6 separate regions of the Homo sapiens genome follow, and regions 1, 3, 4, 5 and 6 are each linked to region 2. Evidence: promoter capture Hi-C in 16 types of primary human blood cells and fetal thymus (Javierre and others, 2016). All regions are on one chromosome and are shown on one strand. Each heading gives the region's core, a stretch centred on a gene start or on the middle of the fragment in contact. The rest is flanking DNA. Distances are from core to core; before and after follow the strand shown.

Region 1 (3,220 bases), core at 617-3,116, 190 kb before region 2:
TGAAATATATGCCTTCAGCAAAGTGCACACATCATTACAGACATCTCAATGAATTTTCATAAAATGAACACATCCAGTAACCACCATCCAATCTAATGCACCATATACAGATGTTCCATATACTGTATATATATATACACACATTATATATATATAGCATGAAGATTACTTATACTAATTAATCATTAACTGTAAATATGAAGAATATTTATTTGTATTCATATTTTTAAGAAGATTGAGATTTAACAGGATATTATAGAAGGGTTTAATTCACCTTTCAAGTTTGTTATAGTTTTTTTCCCCTTTTGTGTATTTTAATCACTTTATTTCACAGTAATTCTTTTGAAATAAAGGAGAGGTCAGCACTCCAGAGTTTTAGGTGGGAGACAGCAAAAAGTATATTTTGTTGATCTCACACGTAGACCTACCATTTAGATTTGTTGTCAAGCCTGATTGAGGCCATTAGTGCCGTTTTTAAAAAATTATATTTGTTAAAAGGAAGATAATTTTTAAAACGAGAAAAAAATGGGCACAAGACATGAGAGTGCCACAATACTGCAAATAGAATGTAAGGAAGGAAATAACTTTTAAGAAACAAATTTTGTTAAATTAAGTACCGTGACTAAATACTTTAATTCCTTTTCTTGTAGCCCGTAAGGATCATTTGACTTTGAACCTTTTAAGTCAAAGAGGAGTAGTCTGAAAGCCTGAACTCCCTACCACCCTGAGGGGGTGCGGGTGCGGCGGGGCCGGCTGGGGGCTTCCCCCACCCCCTGCTCCTGCGCCCTCCCCCCGCTTCCCCCTCCTCCCCTCCCTATCGCCCTCACCCCCCTTCTTCCCCCGTGACCCCTGACCCCAGCTAATCTGCATAGAGGAATGACAGGCATCCGCTGGGCAGGATCCGCCGCGCCGGCTGCGGCCGGCCGGGCTGGGAGACCCGCGCGGGGTAGAAGGTGAGGGGACCCGGCGGGCCGCTCGGCACAGGCCGGGACATGAACGCCTGGAAGTCTGGCTGGGAGCGGACCCATGATCGAAGGACCAAAGGAGCCGCTTGATCGCTGGACCTGGCCCTGCGACCCCAGTCATGGGCCAGACCTCGGTGTCCACGCTGTCCCCGCAGCCCGGCAGCGGTGAGTCCGGGGCGCACGCGATGCGCTCCCGCCGCGCGGGCGCAGGGCTGGCGGCGGGGCCCCGGGGCAGGCAGGGTTAGTCGTCTGGTCGGGTTCCGCTCGGACCCGCCAAGTCCCTCGGAGAAACCCCAGAGGTAGCGCTCGCCAAACTCTTTGTCGTGAAAGAGGAATGCCTTTTGGGATCCAGCCGATTTTACCTTAAAGGCACAGGCTCCATTTTTCTGTGCGCGATGCCTCGCTGTGGTTTTTTATCCAAATTATTTCGGAGCCAGAAACTTACGGGAAACGCCATTTGCGTATTACAGTGTTTTTAAAAACGCGAAACTTAGAGAGCAAGAGAAACATGCCAACAGGTTTTTCTGTATTTACGCTTGGCTTCCGAACAGACTAGGACTGAATGCTTTCAAGCTTGTCAACTGATTTATGGTTTGTTATTCGGAGTAGAAGCGCTGATCGCCTTATCCTGGCAGACGCTGAATACTTAATAACTAGCCCCGAAATGCGTAATTGTTTCAAATGAGACTTGTTTTGTTTATAGTAGATACAGCAGCTATAACATTTAGGGAAACATATCTCATGAACTTAGTTCTCCAGGACTAAAGTTAGTTTTATGGAGACGTGTGTAACGTGTCTGAGTTCTAATGCTCTGTTTTAAAAGTTTCTTTTTTCCATTTTCTTAAACAAAAAGAGGGAAGGAAGGTACGTCTGGCATTTCCCCGACAGTGTAGGGATAAAAAAAAAAAAAACTGTTTGGTGGTGTTACTTGTGATTGGATAAGGAAATAAATTTAAAAGGTACTATTTTGATATTTTTCCATCAACGATTAAAAATAAATAATACTCGAAGGGACCGTTTATGTTACTCATTGAGATATTTGATACACTTTTTAAATTGTGCAAACATCAACAGGATCTTGCTGAAAGGAAATGACAGGGTACAGAGGAAGGTTTTTTAATCTGCCTCAGGATGTCTAGCTAGATAGCATTCTGTCATTCCAACCCCCCACCCCACTTTATACCCAGTGGGTTTCTTTAGGTAGCACAGCTTCACTCCCTGAGATACCACAAGCTTTGCTGAGGTTTCTGTTAATACCACAGAAGACCCTTCTGCAAAGAAGAGACATCAGAATCAGAATATACCTTCTTTACCATTAATGACATGGCTACAGCTCTGAAATCAAAGACCTCATGTTGACAGCTTTTTGAGAGATATTTGCGGGGAGGGGTTGAGTAGGATTTTAAATTTAGTAAACTATTTTGTGCAAATAAGACTTGGTTTCCTTTGTCTTACCTTAAAGTGGTGTGAGACTTCTTTTCATTTCAAGGAAGGGTTATATTTTTACATTTGTGCACCGGCGAAGATAGAATTAAATCTGTACTCCAATACAAGAGTATACAGAAAGTATTGTCCTGAATTTAGTGATTTTATCACAAAATATTACTCGAGTGAATATTAGAAAAGCAAATTTTGCCTTAATAAAAATCAAGGAATATTATATAAATGATGTCTAAGAAGCAAATAAAATCCTAAAGTGAGACTCCCTACGTCTTAGTACAGCAAAAAAACCCGGATTGCTATAATTCCAAATAAAATGACTGATTATAATGAGAAACTGTAATCTACTTAAGTAAAAAGTGTTTTAAACAAAAATTTATGCTTGATCATGAAAGATAATTCAGAGAAATATCTCACGGAACGGTGTTATACTTAAATTGCAGGTCCTCAGTTTTGCGGATTAAAAGTTTGTATGAATTGAAATGACCAATCCATACATCATAAATACAGGGTTTTTTATTTTTCAGTTAAGGAATGACAGTGGTTATGACTTAAGTTGTGGTATTGTAAAAGAACAGTTTTCTCGTGGTATCCAGTGTCTCTAAATCCGTTAGAGCTACCCTGTTTCCCTGAAGGTTTGCCATCAGATTCCAAATGAAAACCAAAAAAAAAAAAATTTAAATTAAATAACGTTTGCTGAGTTTTATATTCATGTCTGTATTTTTCTGAGTCTGAGACTGTCAAACTCTCTACTATTCCAGGTATTTTGTTCACTCCTTGTTAACTGTTTAACTCTGGCTTTACAGATGGCGTGA
Region 2 (3,179 bases), core at 352-2,851:
CAGCTTATCAAGTATCAACCAAAGGTAAGTCCTAGTGTGCTGAGCTATTTGAAGGATGCAGTGCATAAAAAATAGAGTGCACATTTTCGCACAATAACTTTTTATCTTTATGGCTAGAGTGATATTAGAAAAAGCATCAACAGTATGTCATTAATGAGCTATTTTTTAATAGGAATGAGAAGTAACTCTAGTACCATTTTATCTGTATTTCAGCCCAAACAAATTCGAATATCTTCTAAAACAGGAATACCTCTCAATGTCTTACCAAAGAAAGGACTCACAGCAAAGCAAACTGAAAGAATACAGATGATTAATGGCAGTGATCTTCCTAAAGTATCAACTCAGCCACGTTCTAAAAATGAAAGCAAAGAAGATAAAAGAGCAAGAAAGCAAGCTATAAAAGAAGAGCGCAAGGTAAAATATATTTTTCAAATGTGAGATTTACAAAGAGCTGGTGGAGGGGAAATTAGGGGAATTTTGTAAAAGCAGTCTGTATCAGTTTAAAGATGTGAATAATACAAGTATATTCTTGTACTTATAACAGGAACGAAGAGTGGAGAAGAAAGCTAACAAATTAGCATTTAAACTGGAGAAAAGAAGGCAAGAAAAAGAGCTGCTGAACTTGAAGAAGAATGTTGAGGGTCTAAAGCTATAGACAGTGGAGCATACAGGGCAAGGCACTTTATTAGGGGCTCCTCATCTTTGGTTATTGACTAGAAACTTCAGAAAGACAAAACTGTTTGCCATTTTTACTGGCAGATAAGAGGAAAATACAATATTTGTATTATTTTTATACTAGTAAGTGTCCCCTGCCAACCATCTTGTAAATATTGTAATACTTTAATTTTTAATATTATAAGCTTACATTTGCTCTGAAGTAAATGACTTCATGAATGTGAAATGTTTGATAAATTAAAGGAAAATATCTTCATAACGTGAATGGAATTGGTGTATTCATTTATTTGTATGGTTGTCATAGTTGTTTTTTGCAGATGTTTTCAAATATTTCTTTGAATCCTCTCCACGCCTTTTCAGGAATTACATGGTTTAATTTGCTGTAAATAGAAAAGTGGCCTGGTTAAACTCAATTTTGAAATGCTGACTTTATTCTGTTTAGTGTAAGATGAGTTTTTCTGAGAAGGTTCCACTGTTAGGAAGCTAAGTTTTCCCTTGCTGTATACAAAGGACTGTTTCAAAAGTGTGGCAAAACTGAATATTAAGGTTCTTAAGATTCATATTTCCTGTTATATTACTGGATGACTTGCTTTTGGGATTTAGGAACAGTGAAGGCAGGAAACAGAATAGTCAAGGAAATAAGAAAACTTATTTGGCTTCAGTGAGTCCCTAGTTCAAAATCAGAAATATTTATTTCAGTTTAAACTGGGGAGTTTGTCTTTTCAACATCAGTTAATGCTTGGAACCATTCATACTTGATTAAAATACATCGTTGAAAACTTTCCCTGTTTTTGATGAGTTGATTTTTGTTTTAACTGATTTAAACTTTTTCAAGGTTTAGGCAATGACATCATCACAATTGTTGATTATTTGGTAAACTATGACTTCTTGCAACAGATTAGTGGTCCTGGTTTATGTTCTTGACTAGTATGATGTTATCTGGACTGGGCTGTAAAAATCTGTGAACACTGTTGCTCTGAGTTAGGAACAGAATGGCTGGGGCAGAACCATTTTTGGCAGGTGAGCTGCACTTGATATCTAAATTATTAGAAAATGCCTTCATCTGTAATCATTCATTTATGGCTTTTCCAAAGCTGGTAGGTATTAGCTTGTTCTACCATGTGTGATCCGTTTAAATCTAAGTATTGTAGGATTTTTAAAGAGTTGTCAAAACTGATGGCATTAGGTATTCTACCAACATTGGCTAGAAAAAAATCTTGACTGAAGAGCTTGTCATTGCAGAAGTAGGATACTGGAGAGAATGTATTTAAATGCCAACCTGTGAAGTAAAGGGTCAGATGATGGTTTATGTCAATATTGAGAATGTAAGTACTAAAAGGATTGGCCATTTATTTTGATAGCTGTCTCAACTGAAGATTCTCAAAAACAGCAAGAGTCTTAATAGGCATTGGATGTTTCTTTGTCATGTTACTCAAATTCTGTGTTATGAGGTGCTAACTTCACTGTGTTTAAATCCATATATTATATATTTTGCAATTAAGAGAAAAAGACTAGGCCATGAGTCTTGATGAAGCATATTGTGATTTAGGCAGGTTATACTCCAAACTTAAATATTTTAATTTTATTCTGAAGAACAAATTCATGATACTTTAAATGAATTTTCTGATATCTTGGTTCTCTAAAAATCTATAAATGATGATTGGGAACTGAACATAAAAGCTCCATGCTAAATGTTGGGAGCCCAAGAGATCAGAGGGTTTTTGCCTTCAGGAGCCACATGGTCTGAGGAGGCAGGATAGGTGCAGCGAAATGTAACTGGCAATACTATCGTGGTAAGTACCACTTGTAATTAGAATCTTGGTACTTGCTGTTCCCCCAGAAGTGCTTTCACTGCAGACAGACCTTCCTCATGGTTGGTGCTCAGCTGTAACCTTCACTATAGGCTATTCCCTGAGCTTGTATTTAAAAATCCTGCACGCATCCCTCCCCTGCATCCTTGACCCTCCTTCCCTGGTTTATGTTCTCCACAACATCTGTTGACGCAGAGGACTGTTTTTCAGTCTCCTCTCGCAGGACAAACCCTGAAGGCACAGTGTTTTATTTATTGCTTTATCCTTAGGTCTGGAAGGGTGCCTGGCATTCAGTATACAGTCACAAAGTAGTGTATGAATGAATGGATAGATGGGAAAGATTTCAGAAAAGAATTAAACATAGAACCATAGCAGGGCCTAGAATCACTGGGGTTAGGGAGGAGAGAAAGGCCTAAGAGATCCAGGCAGGGGGCAAAATCTTGAAGAATTTGTATCTTAAACTTTTTTTTTTTGCCAAGACAGGTCTTGCTCTGGCGCCCGAGCTGGAGCGCAGTAGTGCGATCTCATCTCACTGCAACCTCCAACTCCCGGGTTCAGGCGATTCCCCTGCCTCAGCCTCCCGAGTAGCTGGGATTACAGGTGTGCACCACCATGCCCAGCTAATTTTTGTATTCTTAGTAGAGACAGGGTTTCGCCATGTTGGCCAGGCTGGTCTCAAAACTCTTGACCTTA
Region 3 (2,897 bases), core at 8-2,507, 230 kb before region 2:
AGCTGGGTCTTCTGCAAGGCTACACTTTAGGTGTTGGGCAGGACACAGTCCTCATGTGGAGGCTTGACTGGGGAAAAGGGACTGGTCCCATGTTAGCAGAGTCAGTTCTTTGCAGCTGCAGCACTCATGGCAGCTTGCTTCTTCAAAGCCAGCAAGGAGAGCAAGGCTCTAATGCAAATCTGCTGTAGCAATGGGAGTCTTTTATAACATAATACAATCACAGGAGAAACATCCCTTCGCCTTTGGCAAACGTGATAACATAGTCATGGGAGTGACATCCCGTCACCTTTGCTATGTTCTAGTTGTTAGAAACAAGACACAGGTCCCACCCATACTTAAAGGGAGAGGATTACACAAAGGCTTGAACACCAGGAGGCAGTGATCATGGGGGGATCATCTAAGTGTCAGTCCACCACAAAGCTTTCATGTCAATTTCAAACAAAAGCAATAGCATTTCTGGTAAAAACAATCTAATGATTCCAGAGCAAGGTTACAATAATATTTTTAGTGTGTAGTTGATGAATTATTTCAGTAAATATAGACAGAAACCACAAATACTAAGGTCTTCCTTGTAGCAAATAGAGACTTAAGTTATAGTATTGCTGAGAGCTTGATTGGCAGTTACAAATTCAGTGATCGCTATGGCTTAAAAAGAAGCAGAGGAATGCCAGGTGCAGTGGCTCATGCCTATCATCCCAGCACTTTGGGAAGCCAAGGTGGGAGGATCACTTTAGGCCAGGAGTTTGAAACCAGCCTGGGCAACATAGCAAGACCCCGTCTATACAAAAATAATAATTAAAAGATTAGCTGGGCATGGTGGTGCATGCCCATAGTCCCAGCTACTCAGGAGGCTGAGATGGGAGGATTGCTTGAGCCCAGGAGTTCAAGGCTGCAGTGACTATGATCATACCACTGCACTCCAGCCTGGGCCACAGAGCAAGACCTTGTCTCAAAAAAAAAAAAAAGTATTACACACACACACATACACACACACACACACACACACACCCAGCTATCCAAGTTTTGAGCTAATTTTTCATTTTATATTAAGCATTAAACACCCCAAATGTATATTTGCTTAAGAAAAAATGCTAAATACATACTTTTAAAAAAGGGCAGTGAAGTTAGAAGATGAATGTTAGCAGGCAGATTCATCATACTTTTCCTTCAAATATTTTAAGAATAGTAAATCCACAGACAATGCTTCTTGCATATAGGGAAGTACATGTGTCTTGTCCATTGCTCTTTCTAGCAATATAGATAAATTCCTTTGTTCTACTCTGTCAATTTTCCTGCCCAATTGCATATTTGTCCTTAATAATCAGTAGTTTACAAAATTTATTCTGTCTAAAAATTGTAATTTAGAGTGTTCGTAGCTTCCCCAAAACTATGAATGACATTATCTCCTTAATGATCATTTTCTCTTTGCCCAGTTGTCAGGCAATAAAATTATTCAGTGTAGCATCAAAAGCCTCAGCCAAGGGCTGATAAAGTCAGATGAATCTACATACTTATGCATAATTTTTTAACAGTGTCCAATATTCTTCTGAATTATTTTTGAATCATTACATCTTTCTGCTTTCATGAGCCACCAATGACATGCTTCATAAAATGACAATTGCTGCAAAGTACCTGAAGTACAGTCTGTCTTTCCAAAACAAATTAATGGTAAGATATACCTATAGCAATGTAATGTTGTAAAACAAATGTAACAGAACTTTATATAGTGATTTAATCTTTAAATCACGTTGGGAGTTAGTGTTTATGCCATCAAGGCTATCATTGCTCAAAACATTTCAAAAATTACTAAGTGAAAGCATATTCAGAGCCATTTTATAAGTGACACAAGCAAAATAATTCTTATTTTTAATTCACACTTTTGTTTTCTGCTTATGTAGATCACCTATTTTTACTTTTGGCATCTAGATGACATTTGGCCCATTCAAAAAGAATTAATTGTGCTGGGGAAAAGTCTTTAGGTTTGGGAGTGAGAAAGCCTGATTATAGCGGGAGGGATTACTAACTCTCCCTTTGATGATGGATTAGCATACCCCATCATGAGTAAGGATAGCGATGGTTTGAGCAAGACAGTTGACAAGCTTGATGTAATTGATCAAGAACTCTGCACACAACAAGTAGATATTCATTCCTCTTAGGCAAATATGAAACATACACAAATATTGACTATTTACACAGTCACAAAAGAAGTTTTAAGAACCACTGAAGGGTGATTTGATTTGCATTACATTTTCTCACTGTAGTGCAATGAAATTAGAAGTCAACATAACTACTCTAAAGATAATGTGTTCTGGTTCCTAGCCTCCAGAAGCTGGAGGAAGCAAGGAATAACAACTTGTTATTAATAGAGTCATGTGCTACATAATGATGTTTCTGCCAACAGTGGGCCACATATATGATGGTAATTCTGTGTAACTGTAATAGAGTTGAAGAATTCCTATAACCTAGTGATGTCACAGTTGTTGTGCTGTCATAGTGCAAATGCTTTACTCACAAGTTTGTGCTGATGCTGGTGTAAACAAACCTACTGCACTGCCAGTTGTATATAAGTGTAGCACATATAATTATGTACAGTGCATAATGCTTGATAATGACAACAAATGTCTATGTTACCGGTTTGTGGATTTACTATACTTTTAATCACCATTTTAGAGTGTACTGCTTCTACTTACTGTTTTTTAAAAGGTCACTGTAAAACAGCCTCAGTCAGTTCCTCCAGAAGGTATTCCAGAAGAAGACACAAAAGATGGATAGATGAGCAAAGTTAACCAGGTCACTCAGTCAAATAGAATAGAATAACGTTCTCAAACAAAAGACTTACAGAGAGACATAAGGAGAGCAACTTGCTATCTAGCTAGATGCGTTTATGGAAGTGCAGA
Region 4 (3,251 bases), core at 542-3,041, 200 kb before region 2:
GCAATATCAGTTTTCAGATACTAGCTATTTCTATACTGACATAAATAATGGAATACAAGTAAAATATTCATAAAAAATTCATAGTAAAATTTGCATACAATGAAAAACTCTAGATGAAGTAAGATAATATTTAAGGTGGGAACAAAGTAAAAATTATCACCTAAAGTCACAGACCCAGGTGAGAAATGCATATTAATGTTGACTGTTTTATTAATGCATGTAGTTAAATATAATAGTATTCAGTGTTGGTTTGTAGAAACAAATCACTGCATGTGTTACTGGTTCACAAGAAAACACTGTAACACATCTATAAAGAAGAAATTCAATAATCTAAAATGCAGTGGAATCTGGGGCTTCATGTGGGTTTTAGAATATTTAGAGCAAAACAAAATCTAGAGCACTTTATCCTATATAGTAAATAAATAAATATATCAAAGTATAACAATAATTTTGCAAATAAAATAAAAAAGCTTTTAGGTAAAGATTGTTTCTTATCGTATATTTGGCCCTTTTCTAAAATTTTCTTTCTTTTTTTTTTTTTTTCTTTGAGGCAGTCTCGCTCTGTCACCCAAGCTGGAATGTGGCACAATCTCGGCTCACTACAACCTCCTATTCCCAGGTTCAAAGGGAAGCTACTCAACCTCCCAAGTAGCTGGGACTACAGACATGCACCACCACACCTGGCTAATTTTTTGTATTTTTGGTAGAGAAGGGGTTTCACCAGGTTGACCAGGCTGATGTCGAACTCCTGGCCTCATGTGATTCGCTTGCCTTAGCCTCCAAAAGTGCTGGGATTACAAGCATGAGCCACTGCACCTGACCTAAAATTTTCCCTTGTGCATTCTCAAAATTGCAAGTTCTCTACCTGGAAAATTTGGAGGAATGAAAACCCCTCAGCAAAAGACCCTCATTGCATTGGAGGGTGATGTGTGGATTTAAAATGGCAATATTCCAAGCACATTTTGTATATGTACTTCTTAATTGTGTGATTACATGATTTCTCCCTGAATAAATCTTGTTTTGATGAAAGATTAAGTCAGAGCACCTGCAAGCTTCATTGCTCCTCCCCCTTTCTCAGCTCCCATCTTTATCACCTGTTTGGAGAATGTGTCAACATTCCCTAATTGAGAAGTAATTTGCAGTTACTGAAATCCATTTTATATTAAAAAGCCTCTTCAATATGCACAACTTACCCTAGAGAGCTGTTTTACTTGGAGGCATTTCTTAGATTTAAGTTCTAATAAAACTAAGTGTGTTTTAGGAAATAACTTTATAGCTTTTTTTCCCCTATTTTAAAATACAAGGAACATAAAAGTAAAGAAGAGATGAAGTTAAGCCTGTTAAATATAAGAAACTACTTATTTTGTTTGTTATTCCCTTAAGATGTCGTTTGGAGTTTTAAAGATATCATTGTACTACAAATAAAAAATATTACAGATATCTATTTACTCTTCAGAAAGTAAAAATAAGTAGTGGGTAGGAGTTCTTCATCTGTTTTTAGTTATAAAATGCTGAACTATTGAATAATGAAAGTGTTTTAAACAACACTAAAAATGCATCTGTATTTTTCCCTGAATGCAAAACAGTAATATTTAAATTCACCTTCCTACTAGGGATGTTTCAGTTCTTATGACTACCAGGCAGTTTTGTTTTTCATCTTGAATTGTGAATTGTCTTCACCTATATTACAATTAGTTTTTTCTTTTTTTCTTTAATTTCGGCTTTTATTTTTGATACAGGGGGTATGTATGGAGGACTGTTATATGGGTGTATATTGCACCCAGACAGTGAGCAGAGTACCCAATAGGTAGTTTTTCAACCCACATTCTTCTCCTTTCCCCCTATAGTACACAGTGTCTATTGTTCTCATGTTTATGTCCATGTGTGCTCAATGTTTAGCTCCCACTTATAAGTGAGAATATGTGATATTTGGTTTTCTGTTCCTGTATTAATTTGCTTAGGATATGATCTCCAGCTGCATCCATGTTGCTGCAAAGGACATTATTTCATTCTTTTTTTATGGCTGTATAATATTCCCTGGTGTATTTGTACCACGTTTTCTCTAGCCAGGCCCCCACTAATGAGCACCTAGGTTGATTCCATGTCTCTGCTATTGTGAATAGCACAGTGATGAACGTACGAGTGCATGTGTCTTTTTGCTATAGTGATCTATTTCCCTTTGAGTATATACCCAGTAATGATATTTTTGGGTCACATGGTAACTCTGTTTTAAGTTCTTCCAATTACATTTTTCATTCAAAGTTGCAGAGCACTCTCTCAACATGCTGAGTGAAGGCTTGCCCTCCCCGTGGATGAATGAAGTACTGAATATCCCAAAGCATTGAATCACTTCTCTTGATTTTAAGATTCTGTTTCATTGGTGCCCTTGTTTTTATCATTTTGTTTTTTACTCTGTTCTTTTTTCTTTTCTTTCCCTTTTTAGCTTTATCATTTAATATTGACCTAATTCATTTGTGTGATTATCTTTCCCTGAATAGATCTTTTCTTTGTTTTTTTAAATAAATGCGATTAAAGCTTTAAATATAGCTCTAATTACCACATTAGCTTAATTCTACATGTTTTATAGTGCTTTCATTGTTGTTTAGTTCTAAATATTTTATGCTACAATTGGATTTTCTTGTGTTACTTAGGAGTATGTTTCTTTCAGTTTCTAAAAATGTGTGGGAGGGGTTTTTATTTCTGTTTTTAACTAGGTTTTCTTGTTGATTTTTAATTTAATTACATTATGGTCAGAGATCAGGGATTACTTAATATGAATTACTTAAAATTTATTGAGATTTCTGTTATGATCTAGTGTTAAATCAATGTACAGTTGCCATTTTCTTGAGTACAAGTCTCTACACGTTTGTGTATTACATCAAGCTTGTCAATGGGATTGTTTAAATTCATGACCTTAAAAATATTTTGTTTTCATGATCTATTAGTTTTTGATGGTATGTTAAAAATCTCTCCTTATTATTGTGGATCTGTCCGTTTATCATTGTAATTCTGTTAGTTTTTGCTTTAGATATATATATGGTTCTGATGTCAGGGATATATGAGATAATAATTTGAACATCCTGTTAGATTATAATTTTTGTCATTACACTATATAATATGTCCCTCTATACTATTTGTTATTTTACCTTCAGTTTTAATTTATCTATTATTAATATTGAGATTATAAATTTTCTTTTGGTAAGAATTTTCTTAGTAAATATTTTTCATACTTTTATTTTCAGCTTTTGCTG
Region 5 (2,809 bases), core at 220-2,719, 240 kb before region 2:
AAGGGAAATTTGGCAACCCTCCATTTTTAAAGCAGCTTGACTTGGGGCATTTTTAATAAGGGGATAAAAGGAAATATAGCCAGTCCCAAACTTTGACAGCGGTCAGTATGGTATAAAGAGTGAAAATATCTTAGGTCCCCTGTGTGAGATTCTATAGTCTTCACAGCGCCGATCATGCTTGCTTGTGGTACTTACAGAACATGTCACTCGGTCGGGGGTGGGGGGTCAGTTCATTTGTTCAAACAGTAAGCATTTCACAACATTCATTAACCTTAGGGTCACTTTTTTAAGTTAAGGAAGTTCAAAGACATTTGTTTAAATAACTGTATGACTGTGACGATAGTTGAAAAAAGCCAGATAGTTGAAAATTAAAGCCAACTTTGTTTTTAAAATCCAGACTTCGTGGAAAACCAGGAGCTCTGTAGCATACATTTAGAATAAAGCTCCAGCTTTAACTTCTAAATATCCTGGCTTATGTCAGTCTTTTTGTCACAGCCCTAATGCTCCATAAACAAAGGTGTCTCTTATACTAACAGATGTGGGCTTTGTCTTTAGCTGTCTCAGGGAAGGTTTTCATGGAACCTCGAAACTACAAAAACTCCCAAAGTACCCTTGAGCACCTGGGTTACTGTAAAACAAAATCATGTCCCAGAAAATTATGTTTTCAATGCAGGGCTAGTAAGAAATGAAGTTTTTTTTTTTTGGAAAAAAAAAATGCTGTACATACTTCACCAAATTCCTCTCATCTTCAAAAATGCTTACAAATATAGCTTGTTTCTCACAGTTCTCCGGTGAATTATGTAAATACTTCAAATCATCAGTTCTGCTTTTATAGATATGAAACTAAGGCAGAGAAGTTTATTTATTTATTTTTTCAGACAGCAGCCTCATGCACAGCTTAACTGCACATAAAAAATGTTGCCCTGACATATAAAATCCATGTCTGCTTGAGTATATGCTTGGCCATCGGCCAACCCACAAGGCATAGGCCATGCCAAATGTGATTTCCATTGGCTTTTATGCAGGGGGAAAGCCAGGCACAGTTTACCCTTTGGGACGCATGCAATATTGTTTTTAGGGAAATGTGGTTGTATTTGCCCTGGCCTCAAAGGCTGTCTCACTGGAGGACAGGCTTTGGTCACAGTTTTGGTCACAAAACACAACTGTCCCCATCAGCTATGTTGAAGCTCTCTGTACTAGGATATGCAACCAGGTGATCAGGGACTGGAAATCAGCTGGAAATTCCAATAGAGGCTCATTAATTAGTGGAGCCCACATATGCAGGGCATATACTTATATGGCAGGTGGGCAGCAGATGGGGGACAGTGCAAACCTCCAGGAAAAGAACAAGAGCAGGATCATTAAAGAAGCCTTAGCATTTTCACACAGAGACTGAGCTTGGAAATCCAGTTTCAGAGAAGGGATTGGAGGATTGGGTAGGGAATGTGGACAGATTATAGGGAGAGACCAAGGTAGACACCTGGCTTATGAAACGGGTCTACAGAAAACATCAGGAGGCCCCCACAGGTTTCATTCTGGCTTCTTCAATTTGGTGTGAATTGACAACAAAGAAAACTCAGGAGGGCGCGAATGAGTTCCTGTGGATCCCGAGCCCTCTCAGGCCTCCTCGGTGCAGAAGGGCAAATCCTTCCCATAGTTCCTGCCTCTCTCTCTAGAGTAGCACAGGACTTGGGAAGCCAGCAGCTACAAGGAAGCTCACCTGTCAAGCACCAACGCTTTATTTTAATTGGTATTTTGCATGAGAATCATTAAATTGCAACTCTTTCTTATATTTAATCACATTTACTGGCTTTCTCAAATTGAACATACCCCAACCCTTGAATAGTGTGGGATTGTGCAAAGGAATGGAATTAGAGTTGTAAAAGAAGAATGCAGTTCCTGGCTGAGCCTGTTCTACCTGCTGGTATGGGGCCTTGGGCATATCCATGAGCCTCACTTTCCTCATCTGTAGTTTAGGGTTGATTGTACTTGGCTTGAGTAGTAAGTATTATGTAACATAGATTCATTTTGCACCTACGTGGACTTTAAATCTTTGCGAACAGTAGCTCATTTCTTCCTCTCAGCTACCTCCCAAGGTGATCACTTGGCCCCAGGTCCCCCTGCTCTGGCTCCCTGAGTTCCTGCCTTGCTCACCTCTCACATTTTGCTGTTGTGCACTTGCTTCTGGCAGCTCCCATCTCCCTCCTTCTAATCTGCTGTTTTCTTCTTTTTGTGTGTGTGGTCTGGGAAACCAAATAATCAAGAGTGTTATCCTTTTGTTCAAAATGATAGTACACAGACCCCACTGAGGCCTTGGGCAGTGTATGATTCACTTGTGTGGGCTGGAGTTTGTGAATTTTTTACATTTATTCGGGCCGAGTTGCAGTTCGGTTGATTTCCTGGTTCTTGACATAATGGAGGTGGACAGCTAGGTTATATCTTTTAATGTTTCCTCATCATCCAATTTAGAAATCTCCAGAGATCCTGCCCAAACCTCAGGATAAAATTCAAGCCCAAAACGTCACACAAGGCCCCTGTGTCACCAGCACTGTCACCACCTCTGGTCATGTAGTCCTAGGTCCCAGCTCCCCAGACTCTTCCTCTCATCCCAAGTACTGTGTGTTCCTGCTGCTTTGCTTGGCAATGTGCTGTTCTCCTCGCGTACATCTGGTCTCCCCACTGGCCAGGAAACTGCTCAAGGGCAATGTTACCTTACCGTTGGTTTCCTTAGTCCTACCCCAGATGTGGCACACAGTAAGTATTTAATGCATGCTGGCTGACTCACTTCTTCTGCCATTGTTACCAAGCT
Region 6 (3,131 bases), core at 557-3,056, 150 kb after region 2:
GACACAAACAAATGGAAAAACATTCCATGCTCATGGATTGGAAGAATCAATTATCATGAAAATTGCCATACTGCCCAAAGTAATTTATAGATTCAATGCTATCCCCATCAAGCTACCATTGACTTTCTTCACAGAATTAGAAGAAACTACTTTAAATTTCATATGGAACCAAAAAAGAGCCCGTATAGCCAAGACAATCCTAAGCAAAAAGAACAAAGCTGGAGGCATTACACTACCTGACTTCAAACTACACTACAAGGCTACAGTAACCAAAACTGCATGGTACTGGTACCAAAACAGATATATGGACCAATGGAACAGAACAGAGTCCTCAGAAATAACACCACACATCTACAACCATCTGATCTGTGACAAACCTGACAAAAACAAGCAATAGGTAAAAGATTCCCTAGTTAATAAATGGTGTTGGGAAAAACTGGTTAGCCATATGCAGAAAACTGAAACTGGACCGCTTCGTTACACCTTATACAAAAATTAACTCAAGATGGACTAAAGACTTAAAACATCAGACCTAAAACCATAAAAAGCCTAGAAGAAAACCTAGGCAATACCATTCAGGACATAGGCATGGGCAGAGTTCATAACTAAAACACCAAAAGCAATGGCAACAAAAGCCAAAATTGACAATTGGGATCTAATTAAACTAAAGAGCTTCTGCACACCAAAAGAAACTATCATCAGACTGAACAGGCAACCTACAGAATGGGAGAAAATTTTTGCAATTATCCATCTGACAAAGGGCTAATATCCAGAATCTACAAAGCACTTAAACAAATTTATAAGAAAAAAACAACTCCATCAAAAAGTGGGCAAAGGATATGAACAGACACTTCTCAAAAGAAGACATTTATGTGGCCAACAAACATATGAAAAAAGCTCATCATTACTGGTCATTAGAGAAATGCTTCAAAGATTTCTGTGGAAAGATCTTAATCCCATGTAATTTTCCCCTTGGAGGTGGCTTGATTTTTCTGCTTGGATACCTGAAGAATTCTTTAACATTAATATACCCTTTAGTATTCTTATCTGGGCTATGCCTCTGTGTCAGTTATTCTAGATCAATTTTTCCCCCCAGCATACAGTATGATCTTCCAATTTATAGATTATGTTCTTTTCTAATGTCCCATGTATATTATATATCTGAATACGCTGCTTTTTCAGGGCTGAATGTTGTTTCTATCTACTTGTTCTGTGATCCAAGGTTTTTCGGACAAGGAGAGGTGGGGGAAAAGGGGATGTGTGGAATTCAGCTCAGACAGAGTATAAAGCTTGCTGGAGGAACTCAACCTTCACATCTGAGATTCCTTTAAGTCCTCTGGCAGCTGGACTTCAAGCTAGCCAAGGGAACATCCCATGCCTCAGAGTTTCAGTTCATTTGCTCAGTTCAGCACAGTATCCCAGAAAGTGGGAAACTTTCCTGCCTCTGGCAAGATCCAACAGTGGTATGCAAAGGTTCCTCAACATCTCACAGGTGTGCCCTGCCTTTCCACATTGGGGGACGTTTGTGAGAATTCTTAGGATTTGGTCTGATCATCTTTTTCCTCAACATGTCTTGCAGCGGTGGGTGGAGGGCTGGGCAGACATAGGTTCATCTGGAGACAAAGCACGCCTCCATAGAATCTTCTGTTCTCTTTGTTTTTGCTATCAATTCTCAAATTTTACATTATAAGGTTGTACTTTTTTCTTCTTTGGTTGCAGCATGTAAGTTTTTTGTTGCTTTCTTTCCTTTGGGTGATTTAGTGTTTTGTTTTGTTTTTGAGACAGAGTCTCGCTCTGTCACCCAAGCTGGAGTACAGTGGCATGATCTTGGCTCACCGCAACCTGCCTCCCGGGTTCAAGCAATTCTCCTGTCTCAGCCTCCTGAGTAGCTGGGATTATAGGCGTGCACCATCACAACCGGCTAATTTTTGTATTTTTAGTAGAGGCTGGTATGGGGGTGCTGGGTTGGGGGGAAGTTCGCCATGTTAGCCAGGCTGGTCTCAAACTCCTGACCTCAGGTGATCCGCCTGTCTCAGTCTCCCAAAGTGCTGGGATTACAGACGTGAGCCACCATGCCTGGATGATTTAGTATTTTAATTTTGATTTTTTTAGTGCTTCCTTGTGCCATCTTTATCCAGAAGTCAGTCAAGCAGTCTTTCTTTCTCACTGGTAATGAACTATATGAAATCCTTTTTTATCTTTAGGTTATTTCCACAGTGGTCTCTTTGAACATGACTATGTTGACCTGGTAGCTGTGACACACTCTTTTTCTCCTGAGCTTTCCCTCAATGACGCATGCTTTGGCATTACAGCATGCCCTAGCAAAGCTTCTGGAGCAGGGGTTGCAAACTCAAATCTCTACAAAGTTTAAAACAGTGAGGAACAATGGGACTGTGGTAAAGTGAAAAGGACATTCTTTGTGTAAGGGGCAGATGCTCAGCTCAGGCCAATGGCTGCCATGTTTGAACTCAGGGCAGGGTTGCCACATCTGCATAATTTTCAAGGGAAGTATGCTATCTAACATTTTAATATAAAATCTTCTAATTTTGGAAACACTGCAGAGGCCACATGAAGTATTTCTCCAGGTCAAACTGGACCCAAGGGTTGCCAGCGTGGTCACTGTAGTAGACAGAACCCCTCAGGACAAATTCCATAATCACACTTTTTCTCTAAGTATTTGGAGATTCCATTTTATTCTGCAGACTATTGAATGACTTCTTAACATTTCTTCAGCAAATGCAGAACAAGAAAATTCATGCTGACACATCTATAGGTTGATACAATGTGTCAGGACCCAACACTTTCAGGAACAGGTGTTACCAGGGGTAACAGCTATGATGGGGCTAAAATTAATACCACATGGGCAGACAATCATACAGATTATGCCCACATTAACAAAATAATGGAGGGGGAAAATGTTATTTTCAATTGATGCAAAAAGAGCATTTGACAACTACACCCCATCCTGAAAAAAATGACAACTAGGAATGGAATGGAACTTCCTTAGCCAGATAGTGGCTATATTTTATCCTATAGCTGCCATAACAAATTACCACAAACTGGTGGCATAAAACATGAAATTTATTTTCTGAGTCCGAAAGGCCAGAAGTCTGAAATCAAGATATCAGCAA

What was found. The method cuts DNA at HindIII sites, captures the fragments that hold promoters and counts their contacts. A CHiCAGO score of 5 or more calls a contact.
Region 1: a contact is called between a fragment that was not itself captured here and the fragment with the promoter of ZC2HC1B in region 2, in 2 of 17 cell types (megakaryocytes and erythroblasts). The highest score is 7.5, in megakaryocytes.
Region 3: a fragment that was not itself captured here is called in contact with the fragment with the promoter of ZC2HC1B in region 2 in 1 of 17 cell types (erythroblasts); the score reaches 5.9 in erythroblasts.
Region 4: a fragment that was not itself captured here is called in contact with the fragment with the promoter of ZC2HC1B in region 2 in 3 of 17 cell types (megakaryocytes, erythroblasts and M1 macrophages); the score reaches 7.4 in megakaryocytes.
Region 5: a contact is called between a fragment that was not itself captured here and the fragment with the promoter of ZC2HC1B in region 2, in 1 of 17 cell types (neutrophils). The highest score is 5.1, in neutrophils.
Region 6: a contact is called between a fragment that was not itself captured here and the fragment with the promoter of ZC2HC1B in region 2, in 2 of 17 cell types (M1 macrophages and erythroblasts). The highest score is 5.8, in M1 macrophages.

Annotation. Positions count from the first base shown.
Region 1 is chr6:143,677,080-143,680,299 of GRCh38, forward strand. It overlaps PHACTR2 (phosphatase and actin regulator 2), which reads left to right and starts at 886. Exons shown (of 13, transcript NM_001100164.2): 1 at 886-1,130. The coding sequence starts at 1,085. RefSeq lists an enhancer at 230-1,078 and a silencer at 828-1,127. The HindIII fragment of the contact is 660 bases long and covers 1,537-2,196 here.
Region 2 is chr6:143,862,873-143,866,051 of GRCh38, forward strand. ZC2HC1B (zinc finger C2HC-type containing 1B) reads left to right here and starts at 1,602. Exons shown (of 8, transcript NM_001013623.3): 1 at 1,602-1,695. The coding sequence starts at 1,668. LTV1 (LTV1 ribosome biogenesis factor) reads left to right here. Exons shown (of 11, transcript NM_032860.5): 9 at 1-24; 10 at 214-414; 11 at 545-940. The coding sequence ends at 655. The HindIII fragment of the contact is 3,305 bases long and covers 859-3,179 here.
Region 3 is chr6:143,637,593-143,640,489 of GRCh38, forward strand. It overlaps a transcript of PHACTR2 not described here. Among named protein-coding and RNA genes, the nearest start is that of PHACTR2, 39 kb to the right of the region's middle. RefSeq lists an enhancer at 1-516. The HindIII fragment of the contact is 1,679 bases long and covers 419-2,097 here.
Region 4 is chr6:143,661,035-143,664,285 of GRCh38, forward strand. It overlaps a transcript of PHACTR2 not described here. Among named protein-coding and RNA genes, the nearest start is that of PHACTR2, 15 kb to the right of the region's middle. The HindIII fragment of the contact is 1,483 bases long and covers 1,051-2,533 here.
Region 5 is chr6:143,619,741-143,622,549 of GRCh38, forward strand. It overlaps a transcript of PHACTR2 not described here. Among named protein-coding and RNA genes, the nearest start is that of PHACTR2-AS1, 52 kb to the left of the region's middle. The HindIII fragment of the contact is 8,835 bases long and covers 1-2,809 here.
Region 6 is chr6:144,010,455-144,013,585 of GRCh38, forward strand. It overlaps a transcript of PLAGL1 not described here. Among named protein-coding and RNA genes, the nearest start is that of PLAGL1, 3.8 kb to the left of the region's middle. The HindIII fragment of the contact is 1,038 bases long and covers 1,288-2,325 here.